Linked DNA regions of Homo sapiens: regions 2 and 3 are each linked to region 1. Evidence: promoter capture Hi-C in 16 types of primary human blood cells and fetal thymus (Javierre and others, 2016). All regions are on one chromosome and are shown on one strand. The core of a region is centred on a gene start or on the middle of the fragment in contact, and the rest is flanking DNA. Distances in the headings are between cores, read along the strand shown.

Region 1 (3,798 bases), core at 360-2,859:
CACTGTAACCTCCGCCTGCCGGATTCAAGCAATTCTCTTGCCTCAGCCTCCCCAGTAGCTGGGAGCTGGGACTCCCGCCACCAGGCCCAGCAAATTTTTTGTATTTTAGTAGAGACGGATTTCACCCTGTTGCCCAGGGTGGTCCCCAACTCCTGAGCTCAGGCAATCCACAGGCCTCGGCCTCCCAAAGTGCTAGGATTACAGGCGTGGGCCACCGCGCCTGGCCTATTTTTATTTTTTTGAGACTGGGTCTTGCTGTCTCCCAGGCAGGAGTGCAGTGGTGCGATCCTGGCTCACTGCAACCTCCGTCTCCCGGGTTCAAGTGATTCTCCTGCCTCAGCCTCCCGAGTAGCTGGGATTATAGGCGTGTGCCACCACGTCTGGCTAATTTTTTGTATGTTTAGTAGAGATGAGGTTTCACCATGTTGGCCAGGCTAACTTCCGACCTCAAGTGATCCTCCCGCCTCGGCCTCCCAAAGTGCTGGTATTACAGGCGTGTGCCGCCACGCCCGGCCTCTTGGGGTTATTTTTAATGTTCAAGGAATGAACAAAGACCGCCTGCAGCCAGTTCCATTATTCAAGGAATCGAAGTAAAATTTTGTTTTAAGAGAGGGTGGTGCTAAGAAATAAAGTCCATCTGTAGGCCAGGGTTAAAAGAAAAGAAAATAAAGTGCGAATAATACTGTACGGCTGCCTTGGTGTATAGTGGTGAGCATAGCTGCCTCCAAATAACACCGTACAACAAAGTATTTACCTTTTTAAAAATACATATACGTTTTGCACTGAGGCTCTCGGCTTCAGGAGGCTGATAAAACTTCAAGTTCCTTTGCTACAGACCACCAGGGATACACCTGTCCACCCACAAAGAAGTGAGGTTTACTAGCTGCGGCAAGGGAGACACGGCAGACCAGCGCCTGCCTTCTCGGCACAGGGAAAGGCATCATTCCGGGAAGTTTAGGTGAAGTTTAACACGAAGCCGCCTCTGACAGATTCGGCGCAGGGCTGTGTGTCATGCAGTTAACATCACACGGGGCTGAGACGCTGACTCGGGGACACAAGCTCAAGCCAAATGTGCAATGCTGGGTCGGAAGCCCCTTATCCCGGGATGCGCTCCAGGGAATCGGGGCGGCCTCCCAGCTTAGCGTCTGCAGGCTACGCGGTTTCAAGCAGCAACGTCTCTCCCAGCCTAGCTGTGCAGAGGACGACTTTTCAACAGAGGCCGAGAGCTGGCCGCCTCCGCTCCCCCGGCTCCCGGCTCCTGCCGCGGTCCCACCCAGCTCCCGCTTCCCCCGGTTCCCTGGTGCCCTCGGCTGCCCTCAGCTCTCCCCTAGCCCGCGGAACGCTAGGCCCGGGCCTGCAGGCGACACGCGCGGGCACGCACGGAGCACGGCCCGGCCGCCAGACCACGGCCGCCTAGCGACCCGGAAACACTCGCCTCCAGTGAATTAAGGCAGTGACACCTGACTATCCTCCACATGCCCCCAGAACTGTGACGAGGCCCCACGCAGAAGACCGCCCCACTCTCGTCGCACTAGGGACCCCGAAATCCGACCGCCCATGGGAAGCCACTCGCCAGAGTCTTACCTGAGGTGCGTTCAAGGGGGACTGCGCATGCGCAACGGTTGGCGACGCTCCACCCCTTCCGTTGTCGGCTCCGCCCCCACATTCGTAATTACTATTAATTGTACTCTGACCGCGACCCGAACCTGACTGCCCTCTATGTACATTATTTTACGGAATGTTCGCAATAACACATGCAACAGGTGCTGAGTGTATCTCATTTTACGGAGAAAGCAAGAGGCTTACACTGCCCACAATCGCAGTTAGTAAAATCAGAATTCACATTTAAACCCAGGAAACTGACTACGTGTAGCCTGTTCTGGGTCGTTTTTCTAACACCCTGAAACTTAAAGTGTGATAGTCTCAGAGGACTACCAACATAAGCATCACCTGAAAACTTGTTAGAAATGAAGAACTAGGCCGGGCGCGGTGGCTCACGCCTATAATCCCAGCACTTTGGGAGGCCTAGATGGGAGGATCACGACATCAGGAGACCGAGACCATCCTGGCTAACACGGTGAGACCCCGTCTCTACTAAAAATACGTTTAAAAAAAAATAGCTGGTCGTAGTGGCATGCGCCTGTAGTCCCAGCTACCGGGGAGGCTGAGGCAGGAGAATCGCTTGAACCCGGGAGGCGGAGGTTGCAGTGAGCTGAGATCGCACCACTGCACTCCAGCCTGGGCGACAGAGTGAGACTTTGTCTCAAAAAAAAAAAAATGCAGAACTACTGAATCTGAAACTGCATTTTAGCCAGATCCCTAAAGAATTCGTTTGCAAAGTAACACTTGAGAAAGCGCGAAGGGGACATGGAAACAGAGAAGAGAAAAAGAATATAAAAGTATATTGAAGTACCGTGTGCAAGACAAAGCCTGGAACACCCAAAACAGGCACAGATCTACCTTCATCGAAGTTCTAGTCTAGTTAGGGGTATTTACCACAAATAACTGATGGAAAGTACACAATGATAAGGGCCTTGCTTCTAATCCGAGGAATCTGTAAAGGTTTTAGAGAAGGGGTGATAGCTGGAGCTAACTCTGTCCACGCCAAGTAAAGGAAGTGCCTCTGCAAGGTGCTCTGTGATTGCCCCAATTTTCCTAACACCCGCCCCACCCCTAGTCCAGCCCATGTGGTTCATCTGTGTAACTAAAGCATCATAAATTGTGAAAAACATATGAATTTAGGGAGAACAAAAACTTTCAGACCATATAGCAAGGCTCCACTACATTGGTTTGAAATACCAGAATATCAGTGTTAAAAGTACCAGGATGACAAAGCAAGATGAAAAAGCTATTGGGGCTTGGTGCGGTGGCTCACACCTGTAATCCCAGCACTTTGGGAGGCCAAGGTGGGCAGATAACCTGAGGTCAGGAGTTCAAGACCAGCCTAGCCAACAAGGAGAAACCCCATCTCTACTAAAAATATGAAAATTAGCTGGGTGAGGTGGAGCATGCCTGTAATCCCAGCTATTCGGAAATCTAAGGCAGGAGAGTTGCTTGAACCCAGGAGGCAGAGGTTAAAGTGAGCCAAGATCGTGCCACTGCACTCCAGCCTGGGCGACAGAGTAAGACTGTGTCTCAAAAATGGAAGGAAGGAAGGAAGGAAGGAAGGAAGGAAGGAAGGAAGGAAGGAAGGAAGGAAGGAAGGAAAGAAGGAAGGAAGGAAGGGAGGGAGGGAGGGAGGGAGGGAGGGAGGAAGGAAGGAGAAAGAAGAAAAGGTCATTGGAATGGTTCAGATTGAAAAAAAGAAAAGAGGAGAAAAAAAGCTTAAAGAAATGATAACAAGCTTTACCAACTTGGGCCTAGCAGAATGGCTCCTGCAAAGAACAGTGGCAAGAAGAAAATGGACCATTCTGCCATCAACGAGGTGATGACCCAAGAATACACCAACATTCACAAGCACATCCACAGAGTGGGCTTCAAGAAGCATGTCCCTCAGGCACTCAAAGAGATCCGGAAATTTTGCAATGAAGGAGATGGGAACTCCAGATGTGTGCATTGATACCAGGCTCAATAAAGTTGTCTTTGCCAAAGGAATAAGGAATGTCCCGTACCGTATCCGCGTGCAGCTGTCCAGAGGATGTAATGAGGATGAAGATTCACCAAATAAGCTCTGTACTTTGATTACCTATGTACCTGTTACCACTTTCAAAAATCTACAGATAGTCAGCCAGGCACGGTGGCTCATGCCTGTAACCCCAGCACTTTGGGAGGCCAAGATGGGCAGATCACTTGAGGTCA
Region 2 (3,798 bases), core at 346-2,845, 750 kb before region 1:
CACAGATGTACCCAAAAGAATGCGGGAGTCTAAGAGGTTATCTCTACCTACACAGTACCTACCCACTCTATTAAACCTTGGGAAGAGAAGTTGAAAAAATCAGGGAAGCAGGTAGAAAGAAAGATCAGGGGAAACATATGCAAGGATACCAGAACAAAAAGATTCCCAAAGGAAAAGATAGAACTGGTTTTAAAGGTAATAAACCACAATATCTGTTGGAGATTACTAACTACTGTATTTAAATGAGTTAAGGAGAATAAACTTATATTCTGTTGACTAATTGTATTTTAAAATATTAACCATGGATGAAGCACAATCTCTCTGGGGAGAATGTTTCAAGTGAATATCTGGACAGTCCAGGATATCCAGTTATTATGGGAAACAAAGGAGAGCACTAAAGCTTCGTTTATGAATATTTTCAATGTTCTTTTAGCACATGTTGAAGTTTTTTTCTAAGGCTTACCTTAAGCACTTTCCCATTGTAAATTTAATCCAAAGTAAGTCTCTCCCTTCCCTTCTAGGCCGTCATCCTTAAGCCATAAAATGCCCTGTAGAGGTGGAACAGGTCAGAAGACTGAATGCTCAAGCTGCATGTGGAGTTAACATGGCAATAACACAGAATGTGATGACAGCAGACTCTAGAATCTCATGACATCAGTTTATATTAGAACTGTTCTGTAGCTCACCTTTCTCCGAAGTTGGAATTCACATGGCTGTGGAATGTGTTTCTACCTTCACTGTTGGAGGAGTCATCCAACAAATCCAGGGGTGGGAAAACAGCTGGATAAGGACAATAACATATATGACAGCTGTACAATCCTTTACCTTGGACCATCTCTCTCACCTTGGACCATCTCTCTCACCAGCTGCCTTCCACACCCCTGTACTACTAACTCCTTCTTCTTTCACTTGAACATTCTTTACCCCAGATTTTTGCATCCTTCAGTGATACGGAAAAGCAAATGTTAGAGACTTTGGCCTAAAGATACATTGAGAAGGGAAAAAAAGTTTAATAAGTAGCAAATGTCATTGCCACCACAAAGGAAACAAGCATCGTTCACCTTGGCAGTAAAGTATGCCATCTGACTGCTTGGGCCATTTGCACAGATTACGGGGATATGCTGTGGCACTATTTATCACTCCTCAGAACAACTGATACTCACCTAAATGCAAGGTTAATAGAGTTATTAGAAAAGAAACACTGTCCTTTCTTATCTAAACCAATTTGGGCTATTGTCCCCATAACAGGTATACGTGTATGTGTATACTTACCTATGACATGAAACACCCCCTCAAATACTTTTATTTACTGTGCAATTTCCTGATCCTAAATACTACTACCGCCTCTAGCCTTTGCTCCCTTCCTAACACCCTACTGCAGGAAACCCTTGAACAAATTCCTTTTAAGAGACCCAAAGCTCTCTAACGTTCACCATACAATGGTCGGATTTGTAATTTGATTTTAGTTTACATACAAACTAATAAAGTAATCTCTTACTGTATCATGGATGCTGGCAGAAGACATGAGATTCGTGGGTTAGAGACAGAAGACTTATGTTACTTACAGCATAGCAAAGCAGCATAATCACCAGGACATTTACATCAGTTCTCCTTTGTCCCACATTGCCACAGGGGCAATGCAGAGGGCCCAAGGACACTTGCCTTCACAGTGGATTGTGTTACAGGAAAGAACGCTGAGCTTAGATGATCTACCACTTCTATAGCAAGTAGTAAGCAAATCTGCTAAACCTGCTCTTGGTCCTGAAGGGAAACAGTAACTCATTCTTCAAGGTTGCTCACCAGAACCCTGAAAAATGGCCCACATAAAGAATGATCAGGGCCTTACATGTATGGCTCATGTAGCAAGATGTCTGGGAGCACAAGAAGCCCAAGGAGGACTGTCTGTCTCTGTAGCAATCTATTACATTTTCCCTCTCTTGTGAGACTACTGTCTTTTGTTCCTAAGCCGCACTAAGGTCTGATTGTCATTTTCCAAAAGGATCTCTTTTGCACATTGCAAGAACATAATACGTAATGCTTATAAAGTTTCTATAAAAAATTTTTCTTTGAAAAATTGGGCCAGCTTGTTGTTTAACACTCCCACCAATGGCCTCTAAAAGAAGCATCTGCTCACTGAGCTACCCCAAAGGAAATAATTATTTGTAACTAAATCTCAACACTGTCAATCACTGCTGCTCAGTCGAGGTAATAAAGAGGTCAGATCACTCCCCCGACCTTATTCAAGCAAATCTATGATTATGCAGACACAAAAAACGGTGTTTAGGTGTGTGCGCATTTGGGGGATGAGGAAGAAGATCCAGATCTGCTCAGACATCAGAAAAGAAATCTCATACCAGTACAGGAAATATCTAGAAGCTGATTAATATCGTTCTAGGTGAAGAACTTACCTAACCCTCTAAATGTCTGCAAATTGCCTCCTTTTGGCTTTTTAAGAGAACCAAAATTAGACTTAGCCCAAAAGCAAATAGTAACCCCTTATAATGACAAGCATCTAAAACATGTTCGTCCTTCAATTCATTCCCAATTCTCTTTATTATCAATTCCATGACCCCAGGTACCTTCTGCTTTTATCATGCCCTATGGCCACCCAACCCTCCTCCTTTTCTGCAACAGCCACTCTATTCTCACCTAGGTCAGTATTCCATCATTATACTCACTGTGCCCAATGAACCTTTTGTTTATCTGTAACCATAATTACCACTCATTACAACAAAAATTTCATCATGATTGCTCATGTGGATGTTAGAAAATCTTCTAGAACAAAGCTTCTCAAATGTTAGGGTGTATAAGAGTCACCCACAGAGCTTCTTAAAATGCAGATTCCTGAGCACTGCTCCCAGACATTCTGATTCGCTAGGTCCGGGGTATGTCCTAAGAACATGCATTTCCCACACTCTCACAGGCAAGACTGGATGCTGATGTTGCTGGTCCACAGACCACAATTTGAGTAGCTGTGTTCCAGAACATACGGGTCATGACGACCCCCAGAGTCAAGGCAGAAGCGTCTTCTGAGGTACCTCACAGCAGCTGCCTATCTAAGCTGGAGTCTAGAAAAGACAGTGAACAATACTAGGACTGAATGTCCCCCTCCTGGTACCTAGATGACAAGTCTCTTCAGAGAATCTACATTACACACGGGGAGAAGTAGGGGGCACAAGGGGAGAACCCTGACTGGGACTGAATCCTTAACACAAAGAACATGCCCCAAACTAAAAATTGACTGAGTTAACTTGAATTGACAAATTTAAGTTTTTCTACATTATTCAAAACAAATATCGTGAAGTACTCTGAATTCAGCTATTGAAAAATGCACATCTTTAGCTGATCTGAGTGTAGTATCATTCTTCAATAATAATACAAACTATTCAATTCATTACATTAATTTAGTTGTTTTTATAGTTTATCAAATGTGCCTGATTGTGGACAGTAACAGCAACATTCATTTTTAAATTAGCACCAGGATAACTGTTGTATTTCCTTTCATTACAACATTAAACTCTCCACATAAGTTCCCTGTTTGTAGTTTGTTACTCAGATGACACAGCTGTCTGCATGTGACTTGCGAGGCAGAAAAAGTATGGCTTTTTTAATGAATTTAGCACAAATGTTGGTTATTTTATACATATTAAATTTCTATTTTATAGAAATTCTACTTTCAGAATTTTCTCATCCATATATTATTTTGAGAGAAAGAAGTTTATTAAAATTAATTCACTGAATAACTCAGAAACAGAAAGTCAAATACTACATATTCTCATTCATAAGTAGGAACTAAAT
Region 3 (3,798 bases), core at 824-3,323, 730 kb before region 1:
AAAATACATCAGAGTACTTGCTTGCCTTCAGAATAATTTCAAAGGTTGTATGAAGTCATTTACATAGCTTTTTTTTTTTAGAGTCTCGCTCTGTCACCTAGGCTGGAGTGCAGTGGTACAATCACTGCTCACTGTAGCCTCGACCACTTGGGCTCAAGTCATCCTCCTGCCTCAGCCTCCCTAGTAGCTAGGACCACAAGCGTGGGCAACCACGCCCGGCTAATTTTTACATTACTTGTAGAGAGTGAGTCTCCCTATGTTGCTAGGCTGGTCCCGAACTCCTGGGCCCAAGCAATCCTGCCTCCACCTCTCAAAGTGCTGGGATAAGCAGCATGGGCCACTGCCTCCAGCCTTGTTAGCTTTCATACTTCTAATTATGTTAATAGTATACACTTGTAGTATAAAAAAATATAGTAATTAAAAACTTTACCAAACAGATTTTAAAACTCTAATATTTTAATAATCAGATACAAAGTATTATGTTACGTTTCAATTTGTAAGGTGCTAGTAAATAACAATGGAAAATGACATTTTAATATAGATTATGGCACTTAATTAATGTGTATTATTGTGTAATATTAAAGGTTGAGATGAGAATCAAGTATTCTAAAATGACATCAAAATGTTGACTCTAAAGAAAATAGAATATGAAATGTTTTCTGAAGAAATGTCTGAAGAAACATTTCATTTCCATGTTCTAGTTTTATTTAAAATTAATTTTTTGATGTAGAAATTATGCTTTACTAAATTAATTATAATGCTTTCACCATAAATCTAGCACAGATATTCATTAACTTCATCAGCAGACCCTTAGAGGAGAAAAATATAAAATGCATAACTCTAATAAACTCGGGGAAGGTATGACAAATTTTGCAAGGATAAAGAGACATTACAAAAAAGCCCGAGGTTTAAGTTTCCTAAGAGAATTGCACTGAGACCTTGAACTAGTGATCAGATTTCCTACAGCGTCCTGGAAAACCTGGTACTTTCGAAGTGAATTCTATTGTTCATTTCATCAGGTTTTCATGGTTTTTTTGTATTTTATAATTTATTTTAAATTTAGGGCTCCCAAGTGTTTGCCTCATTCCCCTATGTTGGCAGCACTGATAATCCGGCCTTCGTTTTTGTGTGAAATAGGCACAGACGGAGTCTGAGAGCAAAAAAAACCCCACACAAACAAAAACAAAATGTTTGCGCAAGGCTGAAAGCCGAGCGAGAGCCCAGCAAGTGTCTCTGTTGAAATTCTTTGGGGTTTGCAGGGACCAGCCGGGCCGAGGCAGCAAACTGCCTGTTCCCCACGCACCCCAGAAGGGTCCGCGTGCGAGGAAATACCAGCGACCTCCGGGGCTAGGGCTTCCGTGGCGCAGGGTCAGCGAGGGATGAACCCGGGAAGCCACTATGGGCCGCTGCTCCAGCCCCGGGAACGCAGAGCACCGCTGGCTAGCAGGCTCAAGCTTCGCCAGGGACACACCGACCCGGAAGTGCAGTCGCCCCCACCGCAAGTATTTCCGCTTCCCTCCGCAAGTCCCCGGCGCGGTCCGGCCCCCAGCGGCTGAGCAGCCCCCTCCCAGACTGCGCACGCACCTGTGTTCACTGCGCCGGCCTTTCAGCTGTTGGAGAGCGGAGACCAGGACCTGCTGGCGCGCAGTGGCGGACGGACAGTAGCCCTGGAGCCCGCGGGTCCTAAGGTCCCGCGCCGCGGCCGTCGCGTCCTGACCCAGATAGCGGAGGCGCCGGGGGAGGAGCCCGCGGCCGCTCGGCCCCCCGCTCCCGCCCCCTCTCCCTCTCGTGGTGGGTTCAACTCTACCGGGACTGGCGTTGGGTGCACCTTTTGCAAAATAAAATTGCACGTCGCGGGGCGCCTGGCTCGCGCCGGACCGTGTGTCTCGGCCGTCGCCTCCCTTCGAAGCCGGTCGGCACCTTTTCCCCCGCCTGGGCTCTGGGCCTCCGCGCTAGCCCCAGCGCGTTCCCTCTCGCGTTGCTGCCACTCCGCACGCCCACCGCCAGCTCGCTTCGTTCCGGCTCTCAAACCCACTCCCTCTCCCCTAGTTAAACCTTTTTCTGTGCCCTTTCTAGGCACAACCTTGCACTTTACTCCTCACGACTGAATTAAAGGCAGACGCCTTGCACTAATTACTGATATCTGCAGCCCCGTGTTCATAGCTTTATCTCACGTTTTCTTTTAATGAGCAATTTTGACAGCCTCTTCCTTCTCCCCGCCATTCCGAGTTGCCTTTAGATGAAAGCCGCTGTTTTTTCAGATGCCTGACATTTAAGGTTTTACCCAGCTTTCTGTGGTTTGTATAATGAAACTAATTCTGCTAAATACGCTCTTAAAAACTGGGCCGGGCGCGGTGGGTCACGCCTGTAATCCCAGCACTTTGGGAGGCTGAGGCAGGCGGATCACCTGAGGTCAGGAATTCGAGACCAGTATGGCCAACGTGGCGAAACCCCTGTCTCTACTAAAAATACAAAAAATTAGCCGGGCGTGGTGGTGGACGCCTGTAATCCCAGCTACTTGGGAGGATGAGGCAGGAGAATCGTTTGAACCCGGAGGCAGAGGTTGCAGTGAGGCGAGATCGCGCCACCGCACTCCAGCCTGGGTGATAGAGCGTCTCAAAAACAAAAACAAAACAGTACATACACTGCTTCTGTATTGTCCGCACCTTGAGTATTACTGCCTCAAGCTTAGGTTTGCATAACATTAATCTCTAAACTTCCCACCAATATATTGAGCAGAATTAAAAATGGGTACACTCTTTCTCAAAACAGCAACAGCAGACAACACCCATAAAGCCATGAAGAATCCAGAAGGCTTGTTTTGCAATCCATATACTACTGTTTACGGATAGGGATTCAGGGATTCTATAGGCTCTTTAAGATGATTTTTTGAGCTTCAGGCAAGCCGCATTGAAGAATAAGTAAGCCTGGCCATGGTCATTTTATTAAAAGTAATTTGTAGCAGGGCGCAGTGGCTCACGACTGTAAGCCCAGCACTTTGAGAGGCTGAGGCGGACGGATCACTTGAGGCCAGGAGTTCGTGACCAGCCTGGCCAATATGATGAAACACCATCTCTACTAAAAATACAAAAATTAGCCGAGTGTGGTGGCGCACTTCTGTAGTCCCAGCTGCTCGGGAGGTTAAGGCATGAGAATTGCTTAAACCTCAGAGGCAGAAGTTGCAGTGAGCCGAGATCGGGCCACTGCTCACCAGTCTGGGACAGAATGAGACTCTGTCTCAAAAAACAAGAGCAAAAACCTAAGTTGTATTTGGAAAAAGAGCAGATTAATCTTTAACCTCTCAGATTTGGAACTAGTAAAATATTACCTTCTACAAACCCACTTCACTCCTATTTATTATGGTTTGCAGCAATCTTGCAATATAATGCTAGCTTTATTTAACTAGAATACAATATGATATAAACCGATCATGCAAAACAATTTTCTCTTTTAACAAGATTTAGATACCAAAGAAACATGACTGTCTCTTCGCTAATACTTAAAAGGAGCTTTTCAGTATTTAAAACAAAATTTAAGCTTTTCCAGGAGCCCACTGAGTTGTTCACTGCTGCATCCCCAGCACATTGCACAGAAGAGGCTTTCAATAAAAATGTGACGTATGGGCTGTGAACAAGGCCTTACCAGTCTATTCCAAGAGGAAGATGGCAGCTGATACTGACTTGATCTTCAGGTTCAGGACATAGACTATGTCACACTTGCTCCTTTCCAATACATTTGTTTCTATTCCTTGATGAGTAAAAATTATCTGAAAGGTAGAAACTCAGGGACAGTGACAAC

The links. The method cuts DNA at HindIII sites, captures the fragments that hold promoters and counts their contacts. A CHiCAGO score of 5 or more calls a contact.
Region 2: a contact is called between a fragment that was not itself captured here and the fragment with the promoter of CEBPZOS in region 1, in 1 of 17 cell types (monocytes). The highest score is 6.1, in monocytes.
Region 3: a fragment that was not itself captured here is called in contact with the fragment with the promoter of CEBPZOS in region 1 in 1 of 17 cell types (non-activated CD4 T cells); the score reaches 5.8 in non-activated CD4 T cells.

Annotation. Positions count from the first base shown.
Region 1 is chr2:37,194,307-37,198,104 of GRCh38, reverse strand. CEBPZOS (CEBPZ opposite strand) reads right to left here and starts at 1,609. Exons shown (of 5, transcript NM_001322374.2): 1 at 1,585-1,609. It also overlaps a transcript of SULT6B1 not described here and the pseudogene RPL31P16. RefSeq lists a silencer at 1,636-1,775. The HindIII fragment of the contact is 5,744 bases long and covers 1-3,325 here.
Region 2 is chr2:37,947,261-37,951,058 of GRCh38, reverse strand. All of the region lies in intron 2 of RMDN2 (regulator of microtubule dynamics 2), which reads right to left. It overlaps RMDN2-AS1 (RMDN2 antisense RNA 1), which reads left to right. Exons shown (of 4, transcript NR_102712.1): 4 at 522-725. Among named protein-coding and RNA genes, the nearest start is that of RMDN2, 24 kb to the right of the region's middle. The HindIII fragment of the contact is 2,386 bases long and covers 403-2,788 here.
Region 3 is chr2:37,923,212-37,927,009 of GRCh38, reverse strand. It overlaps RMDN2 (regulator of microtubule dynamics 2), which reads right to left and starts at 1,723. Exons shown (of 11, transcript NM_001170791.3): 1 at 1,585-1,723. RefSeq lists a silencer at 1,669-1,908. The HindIII fragment of the contact is 1,233 bases long and covers 1,457-2,689 here.